2 separate regions of the Homo sapiens genome follow, and region 1 is linked to region 2. The links are contacts of gene promoters, found by promoter capture Hi-C in human tissues and cell types (Jung and others, 2019). All regions are on one chromosome and are shown on one strand. The core of a region is centred on a gene start or on the middle of the fragment in contact, and the rest is flanking DNA. Distances in the headings are between cores, read along the strand shown. Region 1 has its middle 6.1 kb from the start of LINC01766. Region 2 holds the start of GPR42 (G protein-coupled receptor 42).

Region 1 (4,793 bases), core at 1,457-3,956, 230 kb after region 2:
AGTGCCAAGCTATCTAAGATTAGAAAAACAAAATGCAAAGTGTTCTTCCTATTCTTACATGCCCCTCAAAGTAACACTTCTTTTTTTTTTTTTTTTTTTGACAGAGTCTTCCTCTGTCCAGGCTGGAGTGCAGTGCCACGATGTCGGCTCACTGCAACCTCTGCCCCCAAGGTTTAAGTGATTCTTCTGCCTCAGCCTCCTGAGTAGCTGGGATTACAGGTGCGTACCACCATGCCCAGCTAATTTTGTATTTTTAGTAGAGACGGGGTTTCACCGTGTTGGCCAGGCTGGTCTCAAACTCCTGACCTCAGGTGATCCACTCACCTTAGCTTCCCAAAGTGCTGGGATTACAGGTGTGAGCCACCATACCAGGCCTCAGCATAACACTTCTAACACCAAATGTTAGAGCCAGGGGCAGGGGTATTTTCCCCACCTACCAACCAACCAGATTCTCCAGCAGACACCAACTGGGTGTCCTGTAATTTAATTCAATTCTGACACTATCTACCTGGAGATGGCATCAGATCCCACAGGTTGAAGGCTCAGTTCCACAAGACTGCCCCCAAATTTGGATGTCAGCCACAAGTGGTAAGTTGTCACCTAGACTTGTGACTGACAAGCTATAAATCAGGTGTTCCCATGACCCCCCTCCTCAAGCCTGATTAATTTGTTCCAGCTGGCCAGGTGCAGTAGCTCAGGCCTGTAATCCCAGCACTTTGGGCGGCTGAGGCAGGAAGATCGCTTGAAGCCAGGAGTTTGAGACCAGCCTGGCCAACATGGCAAAACCCCGTCTCTACTAAAAATACAAAAATTAGACAGGTGTGATGGCATACGCCTATAATCCCAGCTACTCAGGAGGCTGAGGCAGGAGAATCGCTTGAACCCAGGAGGTGGAGGTTGCAGAGAGCTGAGATCATGCCACTGCACTCCAGCCTGGGCAACACAGCGAGACTCCGTCAAAAAAAAAAAAAACAAAACACTATTATCACTCCAGCGATTCCAAGGGTTTTAGGAGCTCTGGGCCACAAAATGGGACCTAGACCAAATATATATGTCACAGTATCACACAAGTGTTGCCAGCCTGGGTCAGCAGCTTGAAGGGAAGGAAGTGGTAGTGCCAGCAGCCCACTCGACCAGAACTCAAGACCAACTCCAGGACCCTGCTATGGCGTGGGGGACATGGGAGAGAGAGGAGGACCCCGTTGCTCGAGGACAGCCTGCCCAGATTCATGTATTCACATCGCAAGTCTAGTTCTGCCTACCAAGGGCGTTGGCTGTGCTACCTGACTCTGGAGACGTAGCAATGACTACTTCAAATTCAACTCAACCCCCTCAGAACATATAAATTGGGGTGAGAGACAGACATGCCACCAGACAGTGACAATCGGAGTGGTCCAATATATAATGGAAGAAAACTTGGGAAGGGTTACTAAAGAAACACTTGTTTAATGACACTCGTTACAGACAGTAAGGCGGGCCAGGCACAGTGGCTCATGCCTGTAATCTCAGCACTTTGGGAGGCCGAGGCGGGCGGATCACTTGAGCTTGGGAGTTCAAGACCAGCCTGGCCAACATGGTGAAACCTTGTCTCTACTAAAAATACAAAATTAGCCAGGCGTGGTGGTGTGCACCTGTAATCCCAGCTACTCAGGAGGCTGAGGCATGAGAATTGCTTGAACCTGGGAGGCAGAGGTTGCAGTGGTTCGAGATTGTGCCACTGCACTCCAACCTGTGGGACAGAGCAAAACTGACTCCATCTCAAAAAGAAAAAGACAGTAAGGCAGACTTTATTCAGGACCATTGCAATATGCAGAGGGAATACTGAGACAGGGGCCTGCACTGGAGGAGAAAGATGGGGCTCAACACTAAATACAGCATGAGCAAGTGGGAAGTCCTACCCAAGGAGCAGGGTAGGGGTCAGTGGATGGAAAATTAGTAAGAGAAAACATTGAGGGTAAGGGGGATTCTGACTAAACCAACCTAATAGGATTCTAGTTGAAGACAGGCCAGGGTGACCAGACATCACCAGGGGGATGGTGGAGGATGAGGAACCTGATCAGATGCCGAGGTGTATCAGATACAGAGGATGAGGGTTTCTAGCTAAACTGACGTAGAAGGGTTCTTTTGCTACAACTGGATTTTACAAAGAAGTGCACAGAAGGAGAAGGTTCAGATGCTTTTTTTTTTTTTTTTGAGATGGAGTCTCACTCTGTCACCCAGGCTGGAATGCAGTGGTGCAATCTTGGCTCACTACAGCTTCCGCCTCCCGTATTCAAGCCATTTTCCTGCCTCAGCCTCCTGAGTAGCTAGGATTACAGGTGCTCACCACCTCAACCAGCTAATTTTTTATAGTTTTAATAGAGATGGGGTTTCACCATGTTGGTGAGGCTGGTCTTGAACTCCTGACTTCGTGATATGCCCGCCTCGGCCTCTCAAAGTGCTGGAATTATAGGCGTGAGCCACCGTGCCCAGCCTTTCTTTTTTTTTTTTTTTTTTTTTTCTTTTCTTTTCTTTTTTTTTTTTTTTTGAGACGGGGTCTCGCTCTCTCACTCAGGCTGGAGTACAGTGGCATGATCTCGGCTCACTGCAACCTCTGCCTCCCAGGTTCAAGTGATTCTCCTGCCTCCACCTCCTGAGTAGCTGGGATTACATGCGCCTGCCGCCACGCCTGGCTAATTTTTTTATTTTTAGTAGAGATGGGATTTCATCATGTTGGCCAGGCTGGTCTTAAAACTCCTGACCCCAGGTGATCCACCTGCCTTGGCCTCCCAAAGTGTAGGAATTACAGGCGTGAGCCACCGCGCCTGGCCGCCCGGCTAATTTTTATATTTTTAGTAGAGCTGGGGTTCTCCATGTTGGCCAGGCTGGTCTCAAACTCCTGAGATCAGGTGATCCACCTGCCTCAGCCTCCCAAAGTCCTGGGATTACAGGCATGAGCCACTGGGCCCGGCCCAGGTTCAGAAGCCTGACTAAAGTTTGGCCAAGCAAAGAATCCTTGTCAGGAGGCTGTAAATAAGAGACCTGTGAGAAATAAAAATTGTCAGGTGTCTGAGCCCAAGCCTGCATGTATACATCCAGATGGCCTGAGGCAACTGAAGAACCACAAAAACAAGTGAAAATGGCCAGCTCCTGCCTTAACTGATGACATTACCTTGTGACATTCCTTCTCCTGGACAATAAGTCTCCGGAGCTCCCCACCGAGCACCTTGTGACCCCCGCCCCTGCCTGCAAGAGAACAACCCCCTTTAACTGTAATTTTCCACTACCTACCCAAATCCTATAAAACTGCCTCACTCCTATCTCCCTTTGCTGACTCCTTTTTCGGACTCAGTCCGCCTGCACCCAGGTGATTAAAAAGCTTTTACTGCTCACACAAAGCCTGTTTGATGGTCTCTTCACACGGACGCACGTGACAAAAATAAAATCCTAAGTCCGCCAACTGGCTGAATGAACACTGTCTTGGCCAAGGGGCCTACAGAGAAACACTAAAAGCTGAGTTCCTAGCCGTGACTGAACGGGTGGTCGGGCACACCTCATTCTACCTCCTCCCTTGCTGACTGCCATGAAGCTTTCTTCCCTAAGGGTTAAACAGAAACCAGCCCTATTGAAAGACTCATTCACTGCTAATTTCAACCAATGGCCTGAAATACATGGCTGCTCCTCCCTTTTGTGGTTTCAACATAACAACTGACCAGCATTCCTTCCTGATCAGAGGCCACCTAACCACGGGGTGTGGCTCTGGCCAGTCTACAGAGGCTGCACACAAAGGGCCTTTGTGTCCTCTGCATCACCTTTTGATGTATAGGGCCTAATTGTAATACATTTAAGTGTTAAGTCTCCACTCCAAAGTGAACATGGGGCCTGGCACGGTGGCTCACGCCTGTAATCCCAGCACTTTGGGAGGCCAAGGTGGGCGGATCACCTGAGGTCAGGAGTTTGAGACCAGCCTGGCCAACATGGTGAAACCCTGTCTCTACTAAAAATAAAAAAATTAGCCAGGCATGGTGATGGGTGCCTGTAATCCCAGCTACTCATGAGGCTGAGGCAGGAGAATTGCTTGAACCCTGGGAAAGAGAGGTTGCAGTGAGCTGAGATCGCACCACTACACTACAGCCTGGGTGACAGAGTAAGACTCCATCTCAAAAAAAAAAAAAAAAAAAAAAAAAAGTGAATATGGGATGTTACTACACATGTGCTGTACCTTCCCTTCATGAATATTCATAGCTCCTCCTATAACCTGTTGAATATGTATACTGAGCCAAGCCATTCAGCGTTAACTCTGACCTTATCCTTCCCTTACTGGAGGTGCCTGCTCTCAGCTTCTACCGGAGGCTACACTTCTCGGCCTGTGAGATGGCCCGGCTGCAGGCTGCAACTCTTTATGAGAAATAAAGCTCTCCTTTCCAAATTTGTAAACCTGTATTAGTCTGTTCTCACGCTGCTGAAAAGAACTGCCCAAGACTGGGTAATTTATAAAGGAAAGAGGTTTAATTGACTCACAGTTCCGCAGGGTTGGGGAGGCCTCAGGGAACTTAAAATCATGGTGGAAAAGAAAGCAAAAACGTCCTTCCTCAGATGGCAGCAGGAAGGAGAAGTGCCAAGCAAAGAGGGAAAAGCCCCTTATAAAACCATCAGATCTCGTGAGAACTCACTATCTCAAGAACAGCAGCATGGGGGTAACCACCCCCATGATTCGATTACCTCCCACTAGGTCCCTCCCACAACACATGGGGATTTGGGGAACTACAATTCAAGATGAGATTTGGGTGGGGACAGCCAAACCATATCAAAAC
Region 2 (4,833 bases), core at 1,153-3,652:
TGAAAAATTGGTTCTTTGAAAGAATAAACAAGATTTATAGGCTGCAAGCTAGATTAACAAAGGAAAAAAAAAAACCTCCAAAAAAGCACAATCAGAAATAACACAGACAAGATTACAACTAATTCCACAGAAATACAAAAGATCCTCAGAGACTGCGATGAACATCTATATTCACATGAATCAGAAAATCTAGAGGAAACAAATAAATTTCTGGAAACATACAACCAAGATTGAACCAGAAAGAAATTGAAACTCTGAGCAGACCAATAATGAGTTACAAAATTGAATCAGTAATAAAATATCTACCACCTTTAAAAAGCCCTTGACCAGATGGATTCACAGCCAAACTCTACCAGACCTGCAAAGAAGAGATGGTACCAATCCTACTGAAACTTTACCAGAAAATTGAGGAGGAGAGATTCCCTACTCATTCTACAAAAACAGTCTGATTCTGATATCGTAATCTGGCAGGACACAGTGAAAAAAGAAAACTGTAGGCCAATAGCCCGATGAACATAGATCCAAAAATCCTCAATAAAATACTAGCAAACCAAATCCAGCAGCATGACAAAATCATAATTCAGCATGATCAAGTGGGCTTTATTCCTGGGATGCAAAGATGTTTCAATATATGCAAATCAATAAATGTGACTCACCACATAAAATTAAAAACAAAAATTATATGATCATCTCAATAGATGCAGAAAAAAACATATAATAAAATCCAACATCCCTTCATGATAAAAACCCTCAAAAAACTAAACATCGAAGGAACACACCTCAAAATAATAAGAGCCATCCAGGACAAACTCACAGCCAACATCATACTGAATGGGCAAACGTTGGAAGCATTCCCCCTAAGAAATGGAAAAAGACAGGGATGCCTACTCCCACTACTCCTATTCAACATAGTAGTGGAAGTCCTAGCCAGAGCAATCAGGCAAGAAAAAGGAATAAAAGGCATCCAAATAGAAAGGGGAAGTCAAATTATCTCTGTTCACTGATGATATGATTCTATACCTAGAAAACCCTACAGATTCCTCCAAAATACTCCTAGACCTGATAAATGACTGGCAGTTTCAGGATGCAAAATCAGTGTATAAAAATCAGTAGCATTACTATATACCAACAATTGTCAAGCTGTGAGCCAAATAAAGAACAGAATCCCAATTACAATAGCCACACACAAAAATAAAATACCTAGGAATACATCTAACCAAGGAAGTGAAAGTGAAAGATCTCTACAAGGAGAACTAAAAAACACAAATAAATGAAAAACATTCCATGTTCATGGATTAGAAGAATCAATATCATTAAAATGTCCATACTGCTCAAAGCAATCTACAGATTCCACCCAATTCCTACCAAATTATCAATGTCATTTTTCATAAAATGGAATCATTCTACCAAAAAGACACCTGCATGTGTATGTTTGTCACAGCACTATTCACAATGGCAAAGTGATGGAATCAACTTAGGTGCCCATCAATGGTGGACTAGATAAAGAAAAAATGGTACATACACATCACGAAATACTATGCAGCTATAAAAAAGAATGAAATCATGTCCTTTGCTGCAACATAAATGCAGCTGGAGGCCTAAGTGAATGATCCTAAGTGAATTAACACAGAAACAGAAAATCAAATGCTGTATGTTCTCACTTTTAAGTGGGAGGTAAACAATGGGTACACGCAAACATTAAAGATGGAAACCATAGACAGTGGGGACTCCAAAGTGGGGGAGGGAGGGCGGAGGACAAGGGTGGGAAAACTGCCTATTGGGTACTATGTTCACAATTTTGGTAATGGGTTCAATAGAAGCCCAAACCTCAGTATTATGCAATATACCCATGTAACAAACCTGCACATGTGCTCCCGAATCTAAAATAAATATTTTCAAAAAGCAATTGACCTATATTATTAACATTTTAATCTACCTGTATATATGTTTTAATCTGCATGTGTTCATGCTTTGAAATATGGTACAGGTACTATGACAATCCCTGTTCTGTAGGGGAGGAAGAAGAGACACATCTCTTCCCCCACATCACAAAGTCAGGAAGGAACAGACCTCACGGAGTCCAGTCTGTCACTGGCTCATGCTTTGTGCCCTTAAAAGGCAAACTGGATAAGTGCCATTCTAGAGAATCAGACAAAATTCAAGTGGAAGAGAGGGGAGGGGAAGAAGACGTCAGCTGGGGCCTGTTTGGAGCATCCCAGCTGAGGCTGCGCAAGGAGGGAGGCACGCAGTTGTGGAATTTGTTCCCCTTTTTGCATACTGACCAGCCCTGGCAACGGAGCTCAAGGCATCTTTGTGCCACTGCTCAACAGTGAGTGATGTCATGGGCACGGCCAGGTCTTTATCAGTTCTGCCGGATAAATAGCCAACTGCACTAGGTCTGGAGAGACAGCAAGGTGCTGTGCGGCAGAGCATTTGGGGTCTCAAAGAAGCAGGTGAGCCTGGGCCCGAGGGGCTGGGTGGAGGAGCACCTTGGTGCTTCTCTGCTGGGGAAGGGACAGGGGACAGGGCATGCTCAGGAAGACAGGCAGGCTGACCCCGCCTGGAAGGCACCCAGAGACAAGAGGGGTGGGCGTAGTGACCTCGTGCCCTTTTAGGGGAGATGCTGCTGGCCAGAGGCCGTTAGGGCCCCCACTACCAACTCCATGTTACTCTCTCTCACCAGTGGCCACCACCATGGATACAGGCCCCGACCAGTCCTACTTCTCCGGCAATCACTGGTTCGTCTTCTCGGTGTACCTTCTCACTTTCCTGGTGGGGCTCCCCCTCAACCTGCTGGCCCTGGTGGTCTTCGTGGGCAAGCTGCGGTGCCGCCCGGTGGCCGTGGACGTGCTCCTGCTCAACCTGACCGCCTCGGACCTGCTCCTGCTGCTGTTCCTGCCTTTCCGCATGGTGGAGGCAGCCAATGGCATGCACTGGCCCCTGCCCTTCATCCTCTGCCCACTCTCTGGATTCATCTTCTTCACCACCATCTATCTCACCGCCCTCTTCCTGGCAGCTGTGAGCATTGAACGCTTCCTGAGTGTGGCCCACCCACTGTGGTACAAGACCCGGCCGAGGCTGGGGCAGGCAGGTCTGGTGAGTGTGGCCTGCTGGCTGTTGGCCTCTGCTCACTGCAGCGTGGTCTACGTCATAGAATTCTCAGGGGACATCTCCCACAGCCAGGGCACCAATGGGACCTGCTACCTGGAGTTCTGGAAGGACCAGCTAGCCATCCTCCTGCCCGTGCGGCTGGAGATGGCTGTGGTCCTCTTTGTGGTCCCGCTGATCATCACCAGCTACTGCTACAGCCGCCTGGTGTGGATCCTCGGCAGAGGGGGCAGCCACCGCCGGCAGAGGAGGGTGGCGGGGCTGGTGGCGGCCACGCTGCTCAACTTCCTTGTCTGCTTTGGGCCCTACAACGTGTCCCATGTCGTGGGCTATATCTGCGGTGAAAGCCCGGTGTGGAGGATCTACGTGACGCTTCTCAGCACCCTGAACTCCTGTGTCGACCCCTTTGTCTACTACTTCTCCTCCTCCGGGTTCCAAGCCGACTTTCATGAGCTGCTGAGGAGGTTGTGTGGGCTCTGGGGCCAGTGGCAGCAGGAGAGCAGCATGGAGCTGAAGGAGCAGAAGGGAGGGGAGGAGCAGAGAGCGGACCGACCAGCTGAAAGAAAGACCAGTGAACACTCACAGGGCTGTGGAACTGGTGGCCAGGTGGCCTGTGCTGAAAACTAGGTCCTCCGGGGGAGGAGGGTGTAGCTGGCGTGTCATCCTCAGGGCGCTTCCTCGCTCACGCCAGGAGGGACTTGGAGTGGCGAGCTGGGGCCCGATGGGGCTTGGGGGCAGAGTAGACATCTAGCCTCCCTAAGGGTATGCGCGCTAAAGCCCAGCTCTCGATCTCACCTCCATCCCCATCCACCCACACACTATGGATTGGGCTCTGGGAAGGGGTCAGGGTGAGAGGCTGCTCTGGAGAACAATGAGGTCCTCATAGCAGCAGGCAGCTCCTGTGTTTTCTTGAGGGTGGCAGAGGAGCTAAGAGCAGTGCCCAGGTCTGAGGGGGCTGCCCAGTGAGTGGCAGGGGCAGGAGAGGGGAGAACCCCATCCTCAGAGCTGCTCCCAGCCAGCGAGTCAGGAGCGGGGGAGACAGGGCTCCAGGGATGAGGCCGCATTCTGCTCCCACAGTGCCTTTTCCAGAAAGTTCCCATTGCTCAATAAATGTGGATCATCAGAGACATTTATGAACAATGACAGAAGAAAAATTACCCAAATAAATGTGGAAGCAAGCAAAAGAGAACAGTGTTTCCTTCTTCTCCTGTTTTGTTCTGGTGGTGTGCTTGGGCCGGGTGGGACTGGTGGATGGAAGGAGAAAACACCAGACTCTGGAGGAAAAGGGCCAAACACCAGGATGCCTGGATGCTGGGAGAGGATCTGGCTTGCAGGGATGAAAATAACAGCTGCCCTGTCTAAAGGACTTGGCCTGACACATCATCTCCTTCTATCTCTCAATAGCCCTGTGAGAGGTACCAGCATTATCCCCAGTTTCAGATGAAGGAGTGGCCCAGAGAGGTGACATCTCCTACCCGAGATCCCATAGCTGGTGGGCGATTGAAGTGGGACCAGAAGCTGGTGTCAGTTGACTCTGACACCCATGCCCCTAAGCCACTCTGCTGTTCTCCATCTGTGTGTCACCTGTGGTCACCTGGCCCAGTCAGATGAGGCTGTCTGAGCAGGACAAATGCAAACAGGCTGTGATAAGGAACAGAAGTAAATGCAAAGCACAGTGAGTATCTGTGTGAGTGCATCCTCTCCCCAGTAAAGAAGACTTCTTGA

The links. Contacts are between HindIII fragments. The study calls those that stand out against the background at their distance.
Region 1: a contact is called between a fragment that was not itself captured here and the fragment with the promoter of GPR42 in region 2, in 2 of the 25 tissues and cell types used here (lymphoblastoid cells and spleen).

What each region holds. Positions count from the first base shown.
Region 1 is chr19:35,601,558-35,606,350 of GRCh38, forward strand. No RefSeq gene overlaps it. Among named protein-coding and RNA genes, the nearest start is that of LINC01766, 6.1 kb to the left of the region's middle. The HindIII fragment of the contact is 5,357 bases long and covers 29-4,793 here.
Region 2 is chr19:35,368,666-35,373,498 of GRCh38, forward strand. GPR42 (G protein-coupled receptor 42) reads left to right here and starts at 2,403. Exons shown (of 2, transcript NM_001348195.2): 1 at 2,403-2,453; 2 at 2,684-4,297. The coding sequence starts at 2,695. The coding sequence ends at 3,735. The HindIII fragment of the contact is 14,423 bases long and covers 1-4,833 here.